Linked DNA regions of Homo sapiens: all the other regions are linked to region 2. Evidence: promoter capture Hi-C in 16 types of primary human blood cells and fetal thymus (Javierre and others, 2016). All regions are on one chromosome and are shown on one strand. Each heading gives the region's core, a stretch centred on a gene start or on the middle of the fragment in contact. The rest is flanking DNA. Distances are from core to core; before and after follow the strand shown.

The links. The method cuts DNA at HindIII sites, captures the fragments that hold promoters and counts their contacts. A CHiCAGO score of 5 or more calls a contact.
Region 1: a contact is called between a fragment that was not itself captured here and the fragment with the promoter of TPRG1L in region 2, in 3 of 17 cell types (neutrophils, naive CD4 T cells and non-activated CD4 T cells). The highest score is 11.4, in neutrophils.
Region 3: a fragment that was not itself captured here is called in contact with the fragment with the promoter of TPRG1L in region 2 in 13 of 17 cell types (neutrophils, naive CD4 T cells, naive CD8 T cells and 10 more); the score reaches 12.7 in neutrophils.

What each region holds. Positions count from the first base shown.
Region 1 is chr1:3,522,727-3,525,426 of GRCh38, reverse strand. It overlaps MEGF6 (multiple EGF like domains 6), which reads left to right. Exons shown (of 37, transcript NM_001409.4): 5 at 1,181-1,303. Among named protein-coding and RNA genes, the nearest start is that of MIR551A, 37 kb to the left of the region's middle. RefSeq lists an enhancer at 1,729-2,268. The HindIII fragment of the contact is 4,070 bases long and covers 1-2,700 here.
Region 2 is chr1:3,623,655-3,626,354 of GRCh38, reverse strand. TPRG1L (tumor protein p63 regulated 1 like) reads right to left here and starts at 1,340. Exons shown (of 5, transcript NM_182752.4): 1 at 1,082-1,340; 2 at 840-931; 3 at 466-642. The coding sequence starts at 1,282. It also overlaps a transcript of MEGF6 not described here. RefSeq lists enhancers at 304-966, 1,947-2,066 and a silencer at 1,267-1,496. The HindIII fragment of the contact is 13,719 bases long and covers 1-2,700 here.
Region 3 is chr1:3,505,685-3,508,384 of GRCh38, reverse strand. MEGF6 (multiple EGF like domains 6) reads left to right here. Exons shown (of 37, transcript NM_001409.4): 14 at 462-590; 15 at 2,149-2,277. Among named protein-coding and RNA genes, the nearest start is that of ARHGEF16, 52 kb to the right of the region's middle. The HindIII fragment of the contact is 736 bases long and covers 1,083-1,818 here.

The DNA of each region.
Region 1 (2,700 bases), core at 19-2,518, 100 kb after region 2:
TCCCCAGGCTGTGGAAGTCCAGGCAGCGCAGATGCGGGGAGAGGCCTCAGGACCAGGCTGCTCTCGACCCCTTCCTGCTCTCCTACTCCCCTCTACCGCCTTTGAGTGGGGCATCAGCTAAGTCTGGAACCTGAGGACACGTGGTTCTAAACCAAGCTGGCCCTTGGGCAGGGAGGGTCTGACGGGGTCTGGGCTGCTCTGGGATGGCGGGTGGCACTTCATGGGGGAGGGTGCCGGCACAGCGAAGGCTTCTGTCCTGGGATATGGTGGCCTTCTGGGTCCTTGCACGGGGAGCCTGTGGGTGTGGGGGGCCCAGGCTGACCCCAGCTGCATTGGTTTCCCAGGGCTGCTGGAACAAACACCGCAAACGGGGTGGCTACAAACTATAGAAGTTTCTTCTGTCGCCATCTGGAGGCCAGGATTCTGAACCCAAGGTGTCCGCGGGGCCACGCTCCCTATGAACCCATAGAGAGGACCTTCCTGGCCTCTTCCTTCTGGCCGTCCTTAGCCCGTAGCCTCGTCACCACAATCTGCCTGGTCTCCACATGGCCCTCTCTGTGTGTCTCTTGTTGGGATAGGCGCATTGGATTTAGGGCTCACCCTCATCCGGAACAATCTCATCTCGAGCCTGAACTTAGGACAGCTGCCAAGACCCTGTTTCCAGACAAGGCCTCACTGGAAGGCTCCAGATGGCCATGAACTGCGGGGACACTCTTGAAGCCAGCACGCCCTCCCCTTTCTCAGGCTTCCCCCCACAGCCTGGGCATGGCCGTCTCAAAAGCTGTCAGTTTCTCTTTTTGGGCTTGTGGGTCCTGGTGGAGCGGTTGACACCGCCCAGGAAGCACTTTGTAGATTTGGACTTAAGAAAACCGCGTGCGCTCCCGGTTCAGTCTTGAAAGGCGCTAGAGGCCCAGCCTGTCCTTGGAGCCCTCTGCTACTCCCCACCTTCTGGCCGGCCCTCGAGGCGGTGGCTCTTCCTTCTCGAGCAGGTGTCCAAGGTGGAAGCACAGACCCTGTCTCTTCTGCTGCGTCTCCGGCAGATGTGGGTGAGGGGCTCATGGGTGGTGCCCTCGAGGCACGGGAGGGACCTGGGTCTGGGCCCCCGGCACCTGGGGGGCTGTGTTGGCAAAGCAGGAGGGCACAGGTGCCCAGCTGCTGATCCTTCCCCATTCCTGCTCAGATGTGGACGAATGCCGAACCCACAACGGTGGCTGCCAGCACCGGTGCGTGAACACCCCAGGCTCCTACCTCTGTGAGTGCAAGCCCGGCTTCCGGCTCCACACTGACAGCAGGACCTGCCTGGGTGAGTGTCGCCTGGAGACCCTGCCTGGGCTCCTGGCTTCAGCCATCCCTACCCTCTGGGGTGTGCCCAGGCCTGGCCTGAGAGGGTGGCTGTGGACATGGAGAGGCAGAGGCCGCTCTGGCAGTGGCTCCTTCCTGCGGAGCATGGCTCTATGGAATCCTGCCCGCACCTTGCCCCAGGCTCAGGCCGGTAAAAGGACTGAATGCCAAGTTGCCAGGTCCCCAGGACCCTGGCTGCAGACCCTCTGCAGCCACACTAAGCCCCGCTGTGATGCTGAGGCCCCTCCCAGTGGACAGGGGAGTGAGCCCGTGGGTGGAGATCCTATTAAAGATTCTCTACAACAGAAGCTGCCGTGGTTATCAGCAGGGACCTGGCCTGGTTGTGATGTCCCCTACATTTGATTTGAGGGAGACCTGGGTCACGTGCTACGTGGTGGGGGACGCTGGCCGAGGAGGCCTGGTCAGGGCAGGGGCTGCGTGAGGACACCCTTCGCCCGCAGAGCCAGGCTTTGTGGGCCCAGGTGATCCCTGCCCAGCTTGGGGAGCCTGGAGGGTGTGGGCTGTGGCAGGTAGGGTAGGGGTGACGAAGAAGCGGGACCCTGTCCCTCAGCTTCCTCTGCGGGGTCTCTTGGCTATTGGAATGGGCTGGAGGAGGTGTCGCGGACACGGACTGTGGCCGCAGGGAGGGAGGGTTAGAGGGAAGCAGGGGAGGTGCCAGGCCTCTAGGAACCGGCACAGGGCTGAGCAGGGGGCTGGAGCCCAGGAATCTGGGGTGAAGAGTAAGTAGCCAGTCAGCCACCCTCACCCTTCGGCACCCCTGCTCCTGGCTGGCTCTGGGCACAGGCGCCCCAAGCAAGGACGGGACTGACCCTCTTGCTGGTCTCTGTCTGGGAGGCATGGGGGGTCATTCTCTGGGTGATGGGCGTCAGGACGCCCCTTCTTCCTGCCTTGGAGGCCCGGAGCAGGGCCCAAGCCGGCTCTGAGCAGCCTCCCTCCCGGTCCTGCCTGTGATGTGGCAGAGCAGCTCGCCAGCCCTGGGGCCCCCCCCCCGGCACACACTCACATGTCCCGGCCACCATGGGGATCCAGGCAGCCGCTCTGTAAAGTTTCCCTGGGTCTGAAAGTAGAAACAGATGCAGGAATGTTGTGATGTGCTTCCGGACAACGGAGACGGGGGTGCGGCCCCAGCCCGCTGCCCTGCGGGGCTTCTGGGAGCCTGGGGCACTTTAGCCTTGCACCCCCTGGTCCCCTCAGGCCCCCTGGAAGAGGCAGCTCTTGGGGGGCACGTCCTTTTCTCGACCCTCCTCTCAGGCAGGGTATTCCTTGTAGAAGGGCAGCCCAGGTGTCAGCCCAGTGGGGCCTCTCCTGGCCTCTAATCCCTTCTCCTGGCCTCCTACT
Region 2 (2,700 bases), core at 91-2,590:
AAAGCTGGTCATTAAATATTTCCAAATTTGTCTTTTAGTGGTATCTATAAATTACAACGGGACCCTCCATTTCTCTTTAAAAAATTAGCCAGAGCAAGACTTGATGTGTCATATGCAATCTGTCCCTGGCTGGAGAAAAATGCAGAGTTTGGACTTTTCCTGAAGAACATCCAAGTTCCTTTTTAACACGCTGGGCTCTACTTCAATGCATCCTGAACTCATGTAAGTCTTTTTACTACCAGCCTAATAGCTGCCTTCTGTGCCAGAATTCCTTTTAATGCACTCAATTGCCCAGAAGTCGCTTCTTTTTAAGGAACTTCCCATTGATATTTGGAGCTGGAGCCTTTGTGCTTATAATTAATGACAGAGAAGACACACCGCTTGGGGGGCTGATTTAAAAGGGCTGAATTGTAAGGTCCACTCTGGTGCTTAGGTCCAGTGATACTGGACTCTGAACAGGCTTACTTGTTGAGCGATTTAGGGGGAAACTGGAATTCTCCGTAGGAAATGGTGTCTACTGCGTTGAGCGCTATCCGCACCACCTGCTGGCACTGGAGACTGATGAAGTCGTATTTACAGATAAGCAGGGACTGCTCCGTGACCAGCACCAGCCGCTCCTTCTCATTGTTCCAGTGATCCACCCTGTAGGCAGAGGAGGGGCCTCAGTCCACACTGGACGCGGCTGTCTCGACTTAGCCAAGGCCAGCCCGCCTGGAAGGGCAGCAGGGGCGGCACGGGGCGCCTGAGCGTGGCACGAGCACCCCGGGAAGTCCTCGCAAGGTGCTGCGCGGCGGCTCGGGGCGAGTCCCCCCACCAAGGAGAGCGCAGCCCCGGCTTACTCGGTAAGCAGCCACACTCCCTGGATCTCGCCGTCCTCCACGGGCCGCACCACCACGCGGATCTCCTCCACTGCCTGCTCGATGCTGCCGGGCTGGGCGGGTTGCGGGGTGGGGGACGGGGGCAAAGATCACAGGTCACAGCTCGCTCCCTGCGGGACCGCCCGGCGCCCGCCTCCGACCCCACCCGCCCCCATCCCGCCCCGCGCCCTCGGCCCCCGCCCCGGCCCTGGCCCCTGCCTCACCCGGAACACGAAGTACTCCTTGACGCGGGCGCGGCGCGTGGGGTCGTGGATGCTGAGAGGCCAGAGTGTCTGGCGCAGCGGCGTCCCCGCCCCCGGCCGCCCCCCGCCCGGGCCGCCGCCTGCCCCCACCTCCTCGCCGGCCGCCAGCACCGCCGTGGGGCTCGTACCGGCCGAGTCCACCGAGTCCCGCAGTTGCAGCATTGCCGCACCCCTTACCGACCCCGACCCTGACGCCGACGCGACCGCCGTCGCCGCAGCCACCGCCACCACCCGGCCGCGCCCCCGGCCCCGCCCCGCGGACCGCCGCGATTGGCTCCGCCTTGCCGGCCCCGCCTCTGGCTCCGCCCCTTCCCGCGTCCGCCGACCCTCGGGATTGGCTCTCCTCCTGCCGTTTTCCGCGATTGGCTCTGCCCCGCCGCCGTTCACAATCGCTCCCGCCCCTCGCCGGGCCGGAAGCGACCGTCACGCGCAGGCTCACTTCCTGTTTACACAACGAGAAGGGGCGGGGCCGAAGCCGGTTGCCAGGGTGTCGCGGAGCGGCTGGGAAGGAGGGGCTGGGAATCTTGGAGCCCCTTGGCCCGCGGGGAAAGCGGGTGACCCGCCCTGCAAGTGGGATGCCCCCTTCGGCCTTCTGGAGCGCAGGTGGGGGCGCGCGCCCATCGGGGGCTCGCACTGCACGGAGGGTCGCGGTGCCGGGGAGCTGAGGTTGGAGGATGCAGGGCGGCGGCCCTGGTGCACCGTGGGGGAGTTCGCACGCCGGGCAGCGATCTTCTGCCGGGACCTGGCGTTCTTCACACACGGCTTATTCGTGACGGATCCACAGAGCAATGCACTCTGAAGCCGGAGGGTAGAAAGTGCTGGAATGCGCGCCCGGGCCCAGGCTGTCGCGAGCCTTCAGCAAGCCAGTGCACACAGAGAGGGCTGCCCAGAGATCCCGGTCAGCGCTCGCAGTTCGAGGTGGAACATGTGTGTGCCCTGCGCTAGCCCCAGCTCCCGGAGGTGCCCCCAGCGCGTGTGGAGGGGGGCGGTGAACGGACCCGCAATCTGGTGGAGGCTGCGGGAAGGAGGCGCAGAGTCCAGGGGTCAGGGTTACCTTCGGGCAGGAGGACAGATCCCTCTGCTCGGAGGTGAGGAAGACACACGAGGCGAGGTGCACACAGGCGAGGAGAGTGAGATGGGGGGAGAATGAGGAGTTCAGGATACATCTGTTTACTTCAGTCAGGGAGTGGGGATGGAGCGGAGTATTTGTAAAGATGGACGGTTTAGAATCGCCGGGATGAGAACCGGGCAGGGAGCTGATCAGGGAAGGGCATGGGGATCTCTGAGCAGCTGGGAGACCCCAGGGAAGTTTGCAGTGGCGCCTCCCACGCGGCAGCTGGGGGAGTGGAAGAAACCAATGCTGGCTGGTCTAGATGGAGGAGTTTGCTGGGTAGCGGTGGTCAAAGACCAGAGAGAAAAGGGAGGCCAAAATCCTAGAGGGAGTGTTGCCCAAGAATGGTGGAGTGCAGGGATTCTGCCCCACTTGCCAGCAGACAGGCCAGGCTGCCAAAGTTGCATGGGCGCTGGCAGAAAGACCCAATACCCCTGGAGTCAGAGAGGAAAGACTACAACAGGAAACG
Region 3 (2,700 bases), core at 201-2,700, 120 kb after region 2:
ACTGTCCACTCTATGCCACGCACTGTTCCAGGCAGTAAGGATTCCCTGGGAACAAGCAAGTTAAAGTGTTTGTCCTTCCTAAATATCAGTCTTCACGGTCCAGCAACAAGCAAGCCAGCAAATAACTAAGACAGTGAGGGGTGTCTGCTGAAGGGCAGCCGGCAGGTGGGGTTCCTCTAGCTCAGATGGCCAGGGACCCGTCATAACTGTCAGTGAGGCTCTGCCTGTTTGAAAGAGCTGGTTCAGAAGGAGGAGACTCCTCTCTCTGCTGGTGTTCAGAGAGAGGAGTCAGTGATCAATTAGTGATGTCTGCCATGAGCATGGGCAGGGGTGATGTGGTACAAGTGCCATCATTTTATCTCTAGGCAACTGCTTCTAAACCCAAGCCTCCAACCCTAGGAAGGGGTCTCAGAGTGTCGTGCTGGCTGGTGACCCTGACGCTTCCCTGTCATTCTTTGTAGCTTGTCCTCCGGACACCTTTGGGAAGAACTGCAGCTTCTCCTGCAGCTGTCAGAATGGTGGGACCTGCGACTCTGTCACGGGGGCCTGCCGCTGCCCCCCGGGTGTCAGTGGAACTAACTGTGAGGATGGTGCGTGCAGCCTCTTCTGGTGCTTCTGGAATTACCCCTGGGCTGTAAGGGAAGTGGGAGACACCACCCCTCCACGTCCTCCTTGTCTCCTTCCTCCCACTGGAGCAGGGAAACTGCTACCAAACTTTTCCTAGACTCCCTTTCCTTCCTGCCTCCCTGTCTCCAGAGCTTTAGGCTGTGCTTGAGAGAGAATGAGGCCCTTGAATGAGAGGGGTATTGCTTTTTCACTGTTGCTAATTTTCCCAGGGCCTAACTGTAGCAGACGATAAGACTACAGAGCAGCACTTTTGGAATGGGTTCCCTTGAGAGGCAGTGAGGTCCCTGTTCCTGGAAGCATTCAAGTAGAGCTGGTGATGGCTGGGTGAGGTTTGCAGAAGGGATTACTTGGGGGCCAGTGGCTGCAAGGGATGATGTTGGCTCCCTTATTAACTCTGAAGTTTCAGCCTTTCTGGAGGAATTAGTCCAGAAAATGTTTCCCAGGTGGCTAAAGCTTCATCTTTAAGTCTTCAGACTTCATCATTTCTGCCTCTTTCGATGGAGAGTGCAGCTAACGTATCATAAACTTTCTGCCTTTGTGAGAGGAAGACAGCCAACCCTAGAACCTGTCCCCCAGGTGGCCCCGTGAGCTTTCCTGGCCGTATGTGCTGGGCTCTGCAGGGCTGGTTGCCTGGTGGTGGTGGGGACCCCAGGCAGCCACACAGGGCTTCCTACCTCTTCCCTGTCAGTGTGCCTCCCTTCCCCACTTTGTCTGCCCTTTCTATTCTACAGGGTGCTGGGGAACCCCCGTATTCATTCCTGGGTGCTGCACCCCTGGGATCGTGCTGTACCCTCCAGGCTGCCTGCAGCGTTGAGGGGTCACCTCCCCTTCTCCAGGCCTCCTCTTTCTGTCTCGGCTTCCGCCTGCCTCTCAGATGAGGATGTTTGTCTTTGGATTCAGGGCCAGCCTGGATAATGTAGGGCTACTATGGCAAGCACTGTTGCAAGAAATGCAACTGTGCCTAGTCTCCAGGTCCTGGGGACTAGGACGTGTATGTAGTTGTGGGGGTACCTTCAGCTGACTACCGCCTTCAGTAGGAGGAAGGACGTGGGGCAGGACCCAGCCAGAGAGAATTGTTTGGGGAAGAAAGGCGAGGACCTTTCTAGCTCTGGGGCCACCTGCGGCTTGGGCCTGGGACCTTGTCTACTGGGGCCACGTGTCCTTCCCGCTTTGAGGCTCTGAGATCAAGCTTAGTGACCACCAGGGGACAGAAGTCAGGCGGCTCCTGATGGGGGCCAGACTTTGGGGAGAGTGGGGCGTGAGCTTTGTGCATCTCTCCAGTGTGGGCCGAGGAATGTGCTCTTCCACCCGCCCTTGCCACAAACCCTGGGGGCAGGGGATGTAGGGGACAGACCAGCCAGGGCAGACGGCCACATCCGGAAGGCTCACCTAGTGCCCTGGCGGGGGCTGCTCCCAGCTCCTGTGCTGGGCCCTGGGCCCCCGCGCATCCTACCACATGGGGGGACCACATGTGGTAGGCTGGCTGCCACCAAGGTTCACATGGAGCCCCGCTGCCCCCAGGCTGCCCCAAGGGCTACTATGGCAAGCACTGTCGCAAGAAATGCAACTGTGCCAACCGGGGCCGGTGCCACCGCCTCTACGGGGCCTGCCTCTGCGACCCAGGGCTCTACGGCCGCTTCTGCCACCTCAGTGAGTCTCACTGCCCCTTCCAGTGTCCATGGTGGTGGCAGCGGGTGGAAGGGATGGTCCATGTCCTGTTACCTGTAGTCTGGGTTAGGATGAGGCTATCGGGGCCCAGCCAGGTCACCCACTGGGATGTAGGTCTGGGGTCCGCCATGAGTCTGTGGACTCCAAGCCACATCCTCTCGACTGTGACTGTGCTGGCATCCAGGGCGTCTGGGTGGATGGTCCCCAACCTTGTGCCTCCCAGCCTTGATGGGTGGTAGGGCTGCAGATGAGGGCAGGGCCAGGCCTTTTGCAGAAGCCTCCGGGGGATGAGGCCTATCTTGGCTTTTGGAGATTCCTGGCAGCAAGGCCAAGCTCTGAGTCCCTGGTGGGGTCACCCATCCCTGGGGTTCAGACACTCAGGGAAGGGGCGGTGGGCTGCAGGGG